Linked DNA regions of Homo sapiens: region 1 is linked to region 2. The links are contacts of gene promoters, found by promoter capture Hi-C in human tissues and cell types (Jung and others, 2019). All regions are on one chromosome and are shown on one strand. The core of a region is centred on a gene start or on the middle of the fragment in contact, and the rest is flanking DNA. Distances in the headings are between cores, read along the strand shown.

What was found. Contacts are between HindIII fragments. The study calls those that stand out against the background at their distance.
Region 1: a contact is called between a fragment that was not itself captured here and the fragment with the promoter of GAST in region 2, in 1 of the 25 tissues and cell types used here (dorsolateral prefrontal cortex).

Annotation. Positions count from the first base shown.
Region 1 is chr17:41,998,603-42,001,302 of GRCh38, forward strand. DNAJC7 (DnaJ heat shock protein family (Hsp40) member C7) reads right to left here. Exons shown (of 14, transcript NM_003315.4): 2 at 1,880-1,968. Among named protein-coding and RNA genes, the nearest start is that of DNAJC7, 17 kb to the right of the region's middle. The HindIII fragment of the contact is 6,309 bases long and covers 1-2,700 here.
Region 2 is chr17:41,710,890-41,713,589 of GRCh38, forward strand. GAST (gastrin) reads left to right here and starts at 1,442. Exons shown (of 3, transcript NM_000805.5): 1 at 1,442-1,498. The HindIII fragment of the contact is 8,154 bases long and covers 1-2,700 here.

The sequences.
Region 1 (2,700 bases), core at 17-2,516, 290 kb after region 2:
CTTATTAATCTTAATGAACTGTTTTGTATAATGAGACATTAAAATGAAATGTGCATGTTGAGCTGGGGTAAGCAAATTAGGTGAGAAGAATGCTGACACGGGATTAAAGTATGCTGGCAAATTAAGCATGGAGATAACTAAGACTTCTTTTATGTACAAAGGCCATTTTCTAAGGTAGTAAATGAATTGACAATGACTGAAATGTATTTAGGTGGGTTTTGCCATAACATTCAGTATTTCTGGAATTGCCTTTAATTTATCAAAAGAAAAACTACCCACCCCAGTTAGAAGAAGTTATCACAGCTGGGGATGGTGGCACATCCCTGTAATTCTAGCACTTTGGGAGGCCAAGGTAGGAGGATCGCTTGAGCCCAGGAGTTTGAGACCAGCCGGGGCAACATGGTAAGACCCTGTCTCTATTTTAAAAAATTTAAAGAGTTAAAAAAAAAGAAAAGAAAAAGAAAAAAGTTATCATTCATGAGTTTGTTTTTTTTTTTGAGACGGAGATTCGCGCTTGTTGCCCAGGCTGGAGTGCAGCGACGTGATCTTGGCTCACTACAACCTCTGCCTCCCAGGTTCAAGCAATTCTCCTGCCTCAGCCTCCCGAGTAGCTGGGATTACAAGCGCCCACCACACCTGGCTAATTTTTGTATCTTTAGAGACAGGGTTTCACCATGTTAACAGGCCAGGCTGAAATGAAATGTGCATGTTGAGTTGGGGTAAGCAAATTAGGGGAGAAGAACTCCTGACCTCAGGTGATCCGCCCGCCTCGGCCTCCCAAAATGCTGGGATTACAGGCATGAGTCACCACGCCTGGCCTTCATGAGATCATTAAGCCTGAAGGAGTTCATACAGTAACAGTTATCAACCCATTGGGCAAAAGGCTACTTCTCAGAGAGAAGCTACTTTTCTCAATTTTTTTTAATTTAATTTTTGAGATGGAGTTCTTTGGTCGTCCCCCAGGCTGGAGTGCAACGGCAGGATCTCAGCTCACTGCAACCTCCACCTCCTGGGTTCAAGCGATTCTCCTGCCTCAGCCTCCCTAGTAGCTGGGATTACAGGCACGCACCACCACACCCAGCAAATTTTTGTATTTTGTAGAGACAGGGTTTCACCATGTTAGCCAGGCCGGTCTCAAACTCCTGACTTTAGGTGATCTGCCTGCCTTGGCCTTCCAAAGTGCTGGGATTATAGGCGTGAGCCACTGAGCCTGGCCTATTTTTTTTATCTTTTTGAGATGAAGTCTTGCTTTGTTGCCCAGGTTGGAGTGCAGTGGCACAATCTTGGCTCACTGCAACTTCTACCTCCCGAGTTCAGGCAATTCTCCTGCCTCAGCCTCCCAAGTAGCTGGGATTACAGGTGCCCGCCACCAGGCCCAGCTAATTTTTGTATTTTTAGTAGAGACAGGGTTTCGTCATGTTGGCCAGAGTGGTCTGAAACCCCTGATCTAAAGTGATCCGCCTGCTTTGGCCTCCCAAAGTGCTGGGATTACAGGCATGAGCCACTGAGCCTGGCCTATTTTTTTTATCTTTTTGAGATGAAGTCTTGCTTTGTTGCCCAGGTTGGAGTGCAGTGGCACAATCTTGGCTCATTGCAACCTCTACCTCCCGAGTTCAGGCAATTCTCCTGCCTCAGCCTCCCAAGTAGCTGGGATTACAGGTGCCCGCCACCAGGCCCAGCTAATTTTTGTATTTTCAGTAGAGACGGGGTTTCGTCATGTTGGCCAGAGTGGTCTGAAACCCCTGATCTAAAGTGATCCTCCTGCTTTGGCCTCCCAAAGTGCTGGGATTACAGGCGTGAGCCACCAGGACTTGGCAGCTACTTTTAATAATATTTGGCAAGTAAATGTTTTCTAGCGTAAGTATCAGTTCTTTCTCACCTATGGCTTTTGTATAATAATTATAAGCTTCATTGTAATCTTTCTTGGCATAGTATGCATTTCCTTGTTCCTTGAAAGTCTCTGCTTCCCTGAAAATGAAAGAGAAAGAGAATCATGTTACTTTACAAAGGGAATAACCTCTGTAATCTTACAGGAGGAATCTTTGGTCTAGAGCCCGCAGCACACTGAGCTGAAAGTTAGTGTGATACTTGAAGGATTTATAGATTTGTTGAATAGGCCAATGGACCAAAAGGAGGTGCTAATGAAAGAATCCAAGTTCTTCAGATGCTCCTTTTTGTCACTTAGATACATTCAAACTAAATCAAGAAAACCCCTCTTATGTTCCTGCCTCACCTCACTATTTCTGCCTGTAGTCATCCTCCCCGCAGGACAAATTTAGACATTCCCTCATGGCAAGGAATTTTTCTATCTCCTTCCACAGTGTCACAACTGCTGCCTCTTTTGCAAACTTACAGGAAAAATGGTTACTCCATTCAGGGCAACTTATTTCTCAATGTGAAATAGGTCACATCCTCAAGAGTTTTAATAATTTCACCTCCTGAAAAGTGGCTCATGCATTTGTCACTGGAAGAACAAGCAGAGCAAAGGCAGGTGGCAAAAGAGTTAAAAGCATAGCATGTTGGTGTTTAAGACAGGAACAGAGCTGAGTGACAGCAGAGACTAAGACCGTGGATGACAGGGACATATGAGGTACAGGATGCCAGTGCCATACTATAAGGAGCACCCATCCACTGGTGTTCCCTCTTCCCATCACAACAATGTAGGTACTTGCTGCCCTCTTTGTACTCCCTCCAGTACCT
Region 2 (2,700 bases), core at 192-2,691:
ACACCGCACAGCCTGCTTCCTTCATCACCCATTAATTCTCAGCAAGGCTGGCTGTAAGCATGGGTACCACTGCAGTTACCCAATACCCAAGGGGATCAAACTCTCCCAGAAAAGGTGGGGGCCCAATGACGCATGAACAGGAGCAAAATCTCTGCTCTCAACAGTGGAAAAGTAAAAAACAGCCTACGGCTCATTACATCTGGTCAAACCATGTGGAGGCAGCAGTTTATCAAATAAGTCAACAAGGTACCATTTTGTTTTCTGGTCCATCTTTGGCAAATGCTTTAGTCTGTTTGCTAACCATTTGAAGGTATATTTTGATACTGAAAAGTTGTTGGCTGGGCATGGTGGCTCACGTCTGTAATCCCAGAACTTTGGCAGACTAAGCTGGGCCGATCATGAGGTCAGGAGTTCGAGACCAGCCCGCCCAACACGATGAAACCCCATCTCTACTAAAAATACAAAAAATTAGCCAGGCGTGGGGGCGTGCGCCTGTAATCCCAGCTACTAGGGAGGTTGAGGCAGAAGAATCGCTTGAACCCAGGAGGCGGAGGTTCCAGTGAGCCGAGATCACACCACTGCACTCCTGCACTCCAGCCTGGTGACAGAACTAGACTTTGTCTCAAAAAAAAAAAAAAGTTGTTATGCAGATTACTAGCTCCCCTTGAAAGCAAAATGAAGGAGGCTTCAAAGGCAGGACCCTCCAGGAATTGGTTCTGCATAGGGGGTTTGCAAGTGGTGGTGCATGGGCAGCTGACCTAGAAGACACGGGGCAGCTACAAGCCAAACCCAGCCCAGCACAGAGGGCCTAAGGAGAAGAAGGCACCAAGGGTGTTCCATGGTAGGGGGAGGGTGAAAGGACTTCAGAGGTGACCAGGATGTGAGCCACTAGAAGGAGAGAACAGGGCCATCAGCCCACAACCCATTGCTCCTGGTAACACGTTATGTTTGCAGAGTCCAGTGGAGGGGACGGGGAATCAATACATCACCCCACATTCACACGCTTGCCAAACATCAGTGGATGGCGAAATCCACTTTCCCTGAATCTAAGCCCATCGGGTTCACTCCCTCACCTACCACCACCCACAAAGGTCCCTATGTAGTTCGAGAGATAAGTGCCAGGCCTCTGACCCCCAGGATATGGTGGGAAGCATTGCTCCTGACCCAGGGAGCTTGGTTCCTGCCCCTCAGGTACAGCTGGAGAGCTGCCGCCACCCCGCTCCAGCCCCTCACCATGAAGGTCAACTCCCCTATCCTTCCCCCACATCCTGGATGACTGACTGACACTAAATGAAAGGGCGGGGCAGGGTGATGGGCTGTACCTGTGCCCCACCCCATTCCTCTCGCCTGGACTCATATGGCAGGGTAGGGGCGGGGTGGGGGGACAGTTGGGAGGGACCTTGAGGGCTTTATAAGGCAGGCCTGGAGCATCAAGCAGAGCAGAGACCTGAGAGGCACCAGGCCCAGCCGTGGCACCACACACCTCCCAGCTCTGCAGGTGAGAAAACCCAGGAGGAGAGGGGAGAGGCTAGGAAGTGGGTTGACAGGTCCTCTCCCCCATCAAGGTACCAGGCCACTGGCCAGAGTCTGGGGCTCACCCCTTGGGGTCTCCAGAGCTGGGACCCTTTCTTTATCCCAGGATGGAACTAGGTCTTGGCTCCAGTACCTACCCTGGTATTCCCAACCTTGCCTTCCACCTGCCCTTCTGCCGCAGCCGGGGCCCTGCCCTTAGCCTATCCCTTCACACTCTTCCCAGCCCTGGGAGGTGAGGAGGACTGGGGTTCTTCTCCTTTCTCTCAGACAAGAAAACTGAGGCCCAGAGGCAAGATGTGACTTGCCCAAAGTCACAGGGATTATTAGGCAAGGCTGGGATAGGAATCCACAGCTCCTGGATCCCACTTCAAGCCCTTTCCTAGACCAGTGCCATCCAAAAGAACGTCCTATGATGCAGGAAATGGTCTTCATCTGCACTGTTCAATATGGTAGCCACTAGCCACGTGTGCGCTTGAAATGGGGTTAGTGTAAGGAAGTTTTTGTTGTTGTTGTTGTTTGTTTTTTTATATAGAGTCTCGCCGTGTCACCCAGGCTGGAGTGCAGTGACATGCAACCTCTGCCTCCCAGGTTCAAGCAATTCTCCTGACTCAGCCTCCCGAGTAGCCGGGATTACAGGCGCCTGCCACAACACCCAGCTAATTTTTCATATTTTTGGTAGAGACAGAGTTTCACCATGTTGGCCAGGCTGGTCACAAACTCCTGACCTCAAGTGATCCAACCCCCTCAGCCTCCCAAAGTGCTGGGATTACAGGCGTGAGCCACTGCACCTGACCATAATTTTTTAATTTAATTAATTTAAATGTAAAGAGCCACATGTGGCTGGTGGCTATAGCACTGAACAACACATGTGGTTAGCATCTGACAATACAGCTCCAGATCACTGATTTTTCAAACATTTCTTCAGCAGCAGAATTCTTTTCTTCCAAAGAAAACCTAACAGAAAACCTGATTATGAAAAACTTAATGGCCAGGCACCGTGGCTCATGCCTGTGATCACAACACTTTGGGAGGCTGAAGCAAGCAGATTGCTTGAGCTCAGGAGTTCCAGACCAGCCTGGGCAACATAGTGAGACCTCATCTCTACTAAAAATAAAAACAAAAAAATTAGCTGGGCATAGTAGTGCACACTTGTAGTCCCAACTACTC